Linked DNA regions of Homo sapiens: region 1 is linked to region 2. Evidence: promoter capture Hi-C in human tissues and cell types (Jung and others, 2019). All regions are on one chromosome and are shown on one strand. The core of a region is centred on a gene start or on the middle of the fragment in contact, and the rest is flanking DNA. Distances in the headings are between cores, read along the strand shown. Region 1 overlaps LOC105375856 (a long non-coding RNA gene). Region 2 holds the start of FAM110B (family with sequence similarity 110 member B).

Region 1 (5,001 bases), core at 913-3,412, 48 kb after region 2:
GGGCCTTTTCCTCCCCATGGCCAGGCAGATCTTCAGGCATCTGGAACATTCACTCTCCTGGATTAGGAGTTTAGGCCCCACCTCCACCCCTGCCTCTTTGGGGCCATGGAGGTTTTCCATTTCCAGGCTTAGGTATACTTCTGGGTGCTAGGTGGCTTCCCACTGGATTCTTCTTCCATACTCATGCTTGTACCTGCCACTGGGGGACCTGTAGGTGGGCCTCCTCACTCGTCTTCCCTCCCTCTCCCTCTGGAGCTGAGCAGGGAGCTCAGACTGCTGTGCATTCCTTGGATCAGCCCATTGCCCAAGGCAACAGAAAGCTTCTCCCAGTAAACAAGGATCAAGTATACACCCAGCGACATTGGCCACAGCCAACTCCTACCCGTAAGTGTCATCTACTAGCCTGTAGGCCAAATCACACATCCCAGTATGAAACATGCCAAAAGAAGTGCATAGGGCTAGAGAAGCAAAGCCAAAAGACCCTACCCAACATTCTTTACAGTTCCACCCCCTAGGGAGGTGGGGAAAAGGAAAGGGAAAGAAAAAATCCCAATAATATAATAAGGAAAGAAATAAGGAGAAAAAATCCTACCAGTAGAAAAATAATTACAAAAACTCGAACTGCCAGCATCTCCAGATAAAAAAGAACCAGCACAAGAATTCTGGCACCATAAAAAATATGAATGTAGTGACACCATTGAAGGATCACACTAGTTCTCCAGCAATGGTCTCTAAACAAAATGGAAACTCAGAAGTGACAGATAAAGAATTCAAAGCACGGATTGCAAGGAAGCTCAACAAGCTCCAAGACAAGGTTGAAATCAACACAAAGAAACTTCTAAAGCAATTCAGGAAGTGAAGGAAGAAATCAGTCAGGGCTTCTGGAATTGAAAAACTCACTTAAGGAATTTCAGAATACAATTGAAAGCTTTATCAGTAGACTAGAATAAGCAAAAGAAAGTGTTTCAGAGATGGAACACCAGACCTTCAAACTAACCCAGTCCAACAACAACAACAAATAATAATAATAATAATAATAATTTTTTAAAATAAAGTCTTGAGAAATATGGGATTATGTAAAGCAATCAAACCTATGAATTATTGGCATTCTTGGAGAGAAAGAGAAAATGTAAACAACCTGGAAACATATTTGTGGGAATAATTCAAGAAAATTTCCCGAATCTTGCTAGAGGTAGACATCCAGATACAAGAAACCAGAAAACACCCATGAGATACTATACAAATGAACATCACCAAGGTATGTAGTCACCAGACTGTCCAAGGTCAACACACACATACACACACACACACAAACAAAAAAACAAAAAAACCCTTAAAGGTAGCTAGAAAAAAAGGTCAGATTATGTTCAAAGGGAACTCTAGGAGGCTAACAGAGTACTTTTCAGCAGAAACCGTACAAGCCAGGAGACCTTGGGCGCCTATTTTCAGCAATCTAAAAGAAAATAAATTTCAACCAAGAATTTTATATCATGCCAAACTAAGCTTCATAAGTAGATAAATAAAATATTTTCCTGACAAGAAATCACTAAGAGACTTTATTACAACCAGACCAGCCTTACAAGAGATGCTTAAGGGAATTCAAAACATGGAATCAAAAGAACGATACCTGTTACCATAAAAATGCACATAAGTACATAGCCCCTGGAGCCTGTAAAGCAATCACACAATAGGAACTACAAAGCAAGCAGCCAACAGCTTCACCATGGAATCAAAACCTCCCATATCAATGTTAACCTGGACTGTAAATGGTCTAAATGCCAACAAAAGGCACAGATCTGTTTGTTATCCTCAAGAGACGCATCTTACACCCATAGGCTCGAAGTAAAGGGTTGGAGAAAGATCTATCATGCAAATGGAGCTAAAAAGAGTAGGGTTCACTATTCTTACATCACATAAAACAGACTTTAAGCCAACAATAGTAAAAAAGGACAAAGAAGGGCATTACATAATGACAAAGGGCTCAATTCAACAAGAAGACTAAACTATTCTAAATACATACACACCCAACATTGGAGCACTCAGATTCATAAAACAACTACTTTCAGGCCTAAAAAAGACTAGACAGCCACACAATAATAGTAGAGGACTTCAATACCCCACTGACAGCATTATACAGATCATAGAGGCAGAAAACTATCAAAGAAATTCTGGACATAAATTCAATTCTTGACCAATTGGACCTAATAGACATCTGCAGAATACTCTACCCATCAACCACAGAATACACATTCTTCTCAACTGCACATAAAACATACTCCAAGATCAACCACATGCTCAGCCATAAGGAGTCCCAATACATTCATAAAAATCAAAATCATACCACCCATAATTGCAGACCACGTGGAATAAAAGTAGATGTCAATACCAGAAGATTTCTCAAAACCACACAGTTACATGGAAATTAACTTGCTTCTAAATGTCTTTTGGATAAACAATGAAATTAAGGGAGAAATAAAAAATTATTTGAAATAAATCCAGAGACACAACATACCGAAGTCTCTGGGATGCCCCAAAAGCAGTGTTAAGAGCAAAGTTTAGAGCATTAAATGTCTACCTCAAAAAGTTAGAAAGATCTCAAATTAATGATCTAATATCATAGCTAGAGGAACTAGAAAAACAAGAACAAACTCACCTGAAAGCTAGCAGAAGAAAAAAAATAACTAAAATCAGAGCAGAACTGAATGAAATTGAGACCTAAATTATTATTAAGGGAAAGCAGTTTAGGCTGTCTACGTGGGAATAATAACCAGAGCAAATGTAACATTTCTATTCAATTCACCAAATACTATTGGGGGTACTGGGTTTGGTAGGTGATTAAGAGGTAAATAAGCCTGTCCTTGAACCCATGAGAAAACGGGAAAATTATGAAAATGACATGACGTTTGTTTTCTTTTTTTTTTTTTGAGATGGAGTCTCACTCTGTCACCCAGGCTGGAGTGCAGTAGTGTGATCTCACCTCATTGCAAACTTCACCTCCTGAGTTCAAGTGCTGCTGCTGCCTCAGCCTCCCAAGTAGCTGGGATTACAAGTGCCCACCACCACACTCAACTTCTTTTTGTATTTTTAGTAGAGACAGGGTTTCACTGTGTTTGCCAGGCTGGTCTCAAACCCGTGGCCTCAAGTGAGCTGCCCAAGGGCCTCCTAAAGTGCTGGGACTACAGGAAGGAGCCACCACCACCAGCCTGACATGACTTTTTATATTTATTTATTTATTTAGAGATGGAGTCTCATTCTTGTTGCCCAGGCTGGAGTGCAATGGCATGATCTGGGCTCACCACAACCTCTGCCTCCTGGGTTCAAGTGATTCTCCTGCCTCAGCCTTCCGAGTAGCTGGGATTACAGGCATGCATCACCACGCCCAGTTAATTTTGTATTTTTAGTAGAGACATGGTTTCTCCATGTTGGTCAGGCTGGTCTCGAACTCCTGAGCTCAGGTGATCTACCCGCCTCAGCCTCCCAAAGTGTGGGGATTATAGGTGTGAGCCACCGTGCCCGGCCTGACATGACTTTTTCTTAACGAAGAAATGTCACTTTTATTTTAATTTTTTTTTACTAACACTATATATAATTACTTCGGAATTATTTTACTAACATTACATATAATTATTTTGGAAAAATGAAATTACACAGAAGAGCAAAATAAAGACAGTAAAAAATTATTCATTGTTCTATCATCTAGGCATAACAACCCTTATTTATGTACTTCTGGGTTCATGTTTCTATTTCTCTATGTATACTCTTAAGAAATCAACTTTGTTGAGATAGAATTTAGACACAATAAAATATCCCACTTTGAGTGTGCATTTTGATGTGTTCTGACAAGTATATACAACCGTGTAACCTCCACCATTATTAAGGTCTAGAATATTTCATTGCCCCCAAAGTTTCACTTTTGCCCATATTCTGTCAATCCCCACCAATACCACAAACCTCAGGTGTGCACTGCACTGATCTGCTGCCCATTATTATAAATTGTTTTCACTTTTTCTAGAATTTCACAAAATGGAATTATATAGCATACACCCTTTTGTGTCTGACTTATTTTGCTCACCATAATTATTTTAGCTTGCATCACATTTTTGCAAGCATCAATAATTCATTTGTTTTCATTGTTGTGTAGCATTCCATCATATGAATATACCATAATTTGTTTATCCATTTGTCTGTTTTTGGCCATTAAGAATAAGCTGCTGAATATTCAAGTTCAAATTTTTGTTGGAACATATATTTTTTGTGAAGAAGTGGGGATACCTAGGAGTTGAATTGCTGGGCCATAGGGTGAGTGTATGTCAAATTTTGTAAAGAACTGCCAAGCTGTTTTCCAAAAAGTGTTCGTACCTTTTGATTGTCCTAACAGCAAGGTATAACAGTCCTCATGACTCCACATCTTTGTCAACACTCAGTATTGTCAATCTTTTTAATTTTAGCTATTCTAGTAGATGTATAGTGATATCCCACTGCAGCTTTAATTTACATTTCCCTGATGAGTAATGACGTTGAGCACTTTTTTCAAGTGCTTATTGGCACATCAGTATATCTTCTTTTGTAATGAACCCATTCAAACTTTTCGCTTTTTTTTGAGATTCTCTGTTTCTGTATTACTAAATTATAAGAGTTCTTTATATATTCTGGATACAGGTTTTTTTTTGTGAGATTTACGTATTGTGGCTACATTCTGCTGGACTACTGCTTGCTTTTTCATTTTCTTAACAGTACGTTTGAAAAAGCAGAAATTTTTATTTTGATTAAGCCCAATTTATCAGCTTTTTATTTTATGATTTATATTTTTTATGTTCTATCAAAAAATCTTTTTCTACCCCAACTTTATGAATATATTTTCCCATGCTTTTCTACTGGAGGTTTAATAGTTTGTTTACATCTATGATCAATTTCAAGTTAGTCTTTATATTTGGTATGAGGTATGGGTCAAGATTCATTTTTTATTTTATTTTTGTATATGGAGATACAGTTGTTACAGCA
Region 2 (4,696 bases), core at 424-2,923:
AAATACCGTAGGGTAAACCAATGGGATGTTATCAGTGAAGGATTCTAGTTTACCATTAACTCACCTTTATTCTAGAATAACTATGCTTAATAAATAGCTTACCTGAATGACCAGGGGTTGTGATGTCACAAAAATGAGTACAAGAAATTAATACAAGTATCTTCCCAGAAATCACTACGTGTAAACTGGGGGGAAAATAATAAATACCTTCTTCACCAACAAAGGAAACGAAGAAAATGGAAGTCCTACTATCCATACTGCAAAAATGCTTATTCTACTATCATATTCCCTTTTGAGAAATAGACCAGTTACGCCAGAAGTGCAATGTTGTCACAGATGTGTGCCAGATTTTGCAGAGGACATAAGTTGGCTGTGAGGAAGAACACAGAGGTTGCCTATTTTTTAGGCAGGAAAGAAAGCCTGCACTTTTCTGTGTGTGTGTGTCAATAAATCTGAATAACAACTTGAAAGGGTTAAAAAGCTGAGCACCAGGTGTTTTCTTTCCACTTTCCAGAGTAATTTAAGCACACTGCAAAGTTATCTCCCTTCCTTCCCCACGAGCCAGCTTAAGGGAGACCTGTCACTGCCATTTACACTGTACAGCTCCAGCTCTAAACAATAGGAGGGCACCAGGCTGGGCAGCAGGCATCGCGGCTTCCCACAGCCTGTATGGGCTTTGTTGCCAAGTTATGAGCTCCGCTGGGTGATGGAGACACGAGTGAGCCAAGGAGAATTTAATTCTATTTCAAATCTGTATGCTTTCAAAGAAAATAGAGACAATTGAGGCCACGGGAGGAGCTGGAGGGGGTAACCAAAAACAAACTTTCGGAACCTCAGAATCTACATTTCTAGCAGTAATTCTCAGCAAAGGATTAGGTGGTATTGATACTCTCATAAAGTATTTAACACCGAGATTAGAGACCATTCAGGAGCGGTGGCCGAGCGGAGTCCCCATCCTTCGTAGTCCCACTCCTCCAGCAGCAACCGGCGGCGCGCTTTCGGAGCCCACCTCCGCTCCGCAGCGCGGCCAGCTTCCCCCCGCCCTGGCTCCAACCCCGGCTCCAGCCCCGGCCCCGTGCCCAGCCTCCTAGCCGAGCCCGGGACGTGCAGCCAAGCCGAGCGCAGAGGGGGCGCGGGGCAGGCAGCGGCGCTGCGCCTCCCCCGGCAGCCCAGAAAGCCGGACGGGGTCCGCCTGGGCCAGTGAGGCCGGGCTCAACGGAGACCCGGGCCGGGCGGGGAAGCTGCAGGCGCAGAGCCGGCTTAGCTCCGCGCCGCCTGGCCGCGCGCAGCTCCCGCATTGTCCGCAGTCGGGGCGCGGCGCGACCACTGAACCCGAATCCCAACCCCCGCCCAGCAGTCTCTCTCCCGGCCCCCACGGCCCAGTCTTACCTGGGCCGCTCACCCCAGTCCCTGGCGGTGCGGCCCGAGCCGGGAGCCAGGCTCCGGGGGACTGCAAGGAGGGAGAGTCGGGGCCCGCGAGGGACGAAGGGCCGAGAGCGGGCTGTAGGGGCCGCCGAGTGTTCACGGTCGCCGCCGCGGGGCCGCGGGTAGAGAGCAGACGGGGCTGGCGGAACGGGCCCAGGACGCGCGGCCGCGAAGGGCCCGGCTGGCGGCGGCCGCGATGGTTCGGTCTGCACCGAGTGGGAGGGCTCAGGCAGGCTTCGCCGGAGAGTGAGGGAGGGAACTTGGAGCCAGTTGCTGTGGCCGAGAGCGCGTGTCCCTGAGCCAGTGTACACGCCCCTCGTACACCCCGCCCCGCCTCCATCCCGCCCCCACCCCACCTTCCGGGTCCCCACCCTTCTCGCACCTCCACTCCAAGCCCTGCCTCTCTCTCAACATCTCCACCCCGCTACTGATGCCCATCCCACCCCATCCCTGACCCACCCCCCATTCCACTCGGTCGGCGCCTCCATTTCCTCCCTATCCCCCACTCCCACCTATGTCCGCACGCAAGCACCCCCACCCTGCTCCCACCCGGTGATACCGCTGGATCTCGGACTGCCACCCCAGTGCAGATCGCTCAGCACTGGAGACGTAGAGCCTGTGCCCTGAATGAGATAACCCCACCTGGTAGTCCAGCCATCCAAACGTCTTGGTGCTTGACATTTTCTGTTTACTAACTTTCATATACTCAGATGGAGCGTCCTAGCTTAATTTCTGAAGGCATTTTTAAGACTTCAAAAAAATGTTTGGAGAAAATAGTAAATAACGAAAAATATCAAGCATGATGTACTACCTCTGAAATGTGGGCCAGCTGATGTTTTAAAATGAAATGCTTTGGGGTGCGTCATTATTAATCGCCTAATATAGTATTTGAGAATACTTTCTGCTTAGATTTGCTTAATAACTTGGTTGTTTCAGGAGAGGATTTGTTTTAGGAAGACTAAACACATTGTAATTTAATTTTGCTATTGGGAAGTCTAAAAGATAAAATCCATCTTTATCAAAATGAATTTGAATGGGATATGGACTCACAAAATAATTGTTTCTTCTAGAAAATATTGAGCAAGGATTTCTTTTTAATCTCTGGTACATTAACAATACGATTTCACTCATCTCATTTTCTCAGAAAGATCGTTTATATTTGAATTGTGCTTCAATTCAATGAATCTATTGTTTCATAATAGTTAAGAAGTTGCCAACTAAATAAAACTCAGACTTTATAATAATATATTTTTTTTCTATTTAAAGATTACCATTTTAAGAAAGTGACATGATACTGGGATTTAAATGGAACTTTCCTTTGGCATACTAATACATTCCTTGTTATCACAGATTACGTTGTGGTCTCCATTAACTCCAAAAGTCATATAACAATAGAAATAAACTATTTTTCATCATTCCCATAGCAAATGGAACCAACTTCTCTCCCTCTCAAGTATACTTTTTTTCCCCACTTCTTTGCCCCAATCCCTTCCTTTTAGGAATTTCCCCCTCCCATTGGGTGTGACTAGCCCACAGAGCTTCCTGACATTGTGAGGGATATGACCCAGGCCAGCCAATTAGAATATCGTCTGAGAACAAAGGAGGAGGGTCCTTTCCCTGACTGACAGGGCAGCTCCTGGGACCATATCATATATGCGTGCAGCAGCTGGAGTCAACTTACTGGAGAATAAAACAAAACCAGAAAAAAAGCCAAACTGAGCAATGGAGACAGAAAAGTGCCCTGATGACATCAATGGCCATCCGAAGACAGTCACCTCTAAAACCAGTCAAATCCTGAACTTCTGAAGTAATGCACCAATAAATTGTCTTTCTTGCTTATGCCATTTTGAGTTAAGTTTCTTTCCAGAAGACTCACTTATAAAATCATAAAAGATTCCCCTATGATCGATGCTTTGAAAATCAGGAATGTAACCAATGAGTTTTAGCTTTCTTTCTTTTTTTTTTTTTTTTTTTTTTTGATGACAGAGTCTCACTCTGTCACCCAGGCTGGAGTGCAGTGGCATGATCTCCACTCACTGCAACCTCCACCTCCTGGGTTCAGCAATTCTCCTGCCTCAGCCTCCCGAGTAGCTAAGATTATAGGCACGGGCCACCACGCCCAGCTAATTTTTGTATTTTTAGTAGAGACGGGATTTTGCCATGTTGGCCAGGCTAGCCTGGAACTCGTGACCTCAGGTGATCCACCTGCCTCAGGCGCCCAAAGTTCTGGGATTACAGACGTGAGCCACTGCGCCGACCAAGTTTTAGCTTTTCTATTGCCTAAACTACTTCTTGATAATAAAGTATATGCCAAGGAGTTCACTTAGTAGGACCCCTAACTCTTATTATTAAGGTTCTCATTTAGGGTTTTACTATTGCCCAGTGTAGATTTAATAGCCCCAAATTGTCATCACCAAAACCAAAAACCAATAAAAGATGTGGTTAAAGAGACAGAGAGAACACAGTAAAACATCTATGCTGGAATATTTCAGTAAATATTGTCTTATCAATTATGCCAATAAAACTGCTCTCATAATCCCTAATGTTTGCTGATTTAGGACATAGTTTTCTTGTTTTGGGGACTGAAAATGTTAAGGACTGCTACAGATTTTCAGAGAATGTTGAAATTAGTTGTTTGTACTAGAATTTTATTGTGTTGTTTATTCTTCAGAAGTGGGCCATTATCCTAGGCTTGGAATTCTTTTGTTTCACAGAGGTTTCTGTCTCTAAAAGTATGTAACAATATTTGACTAGTACCCAAACAAGCATCCATACACGAATCAGAATGTAATTTAACCATTATTCACAGGTGACTCTGGACAGTGGGACTATTCCTAGCAAGCAGGGAGCCTAGGGACATGCAGTTATTAGCTCTAATCCTCTGACTGCCAAAATGGTTTCTTACGGGAAAATGTGAGCTTGAAAAGACATGAGCTCAGAGTTTTCACTAGTCTTTCTCCAGATGGGTACGTACCTAAGTTGTGTCAACAACTAGGGAAACTTTAAATGTATAAAAGCCCGTAAGCTGAATAATAACATATTATAAACAGATGCAAGCCTCACAAAAGGAGAGCATCTCTGAAAACAAAACAACCAAAGCAGCTTCAGAGGAAAAGTAAAAAAATAAAGAGTTCTGGAATCCAGTCCCCGCTCCAAGTGGCACTTGTTCTAATGATTGGCTATGCCAGGGAAAATGTCAGTCAAATATCCAGAGTACCCCCAGCATGCCTGTATTGGATCAGTGGGATGCTTGTACCCATTTTCTTGCCTA

The links. Contacts are between HindIII fragments. The study calls those that stand out against the background at their distance.
Region 1: a fragment that was not itself captured here is called in contact with the fragment with the promoter of FAM110B in region 2 in 1 of the 25 tissues and cell types used here (bladder).

What each region holds. Positions count from the first base shown.
Region 1 is chr8:57,943,451-57,948,451 of GRCh38, reverse strand. All of the region lies in intron 2 of LOC105375856 (a long non-coding RNA gene), which reads right to left. Among named protein-coding and RNA genes, the nearest start is that of LINC01602, 32 kb to the left of the region's middle. The HindIII fragment of the contact is 3,076 bases long and covers 625-3,700 here.
Region 2 is chr8:57,991,500-57,996,195 of GRCh38, reverse strand. It overlaps FAM110B (family with sequence similarity 110 member B), which reads right to left and starts at 1,673. Exons shown (of 4, transcript NM_001377989.1): 1 at 1,390-1,673. RefSeq lists an enhancer at 722-1,222 and silencers at 1,227-1,276, 1,297-1,346. The HindIII fragment of the contact is 16,250 bases long and covers 1-4,696 here.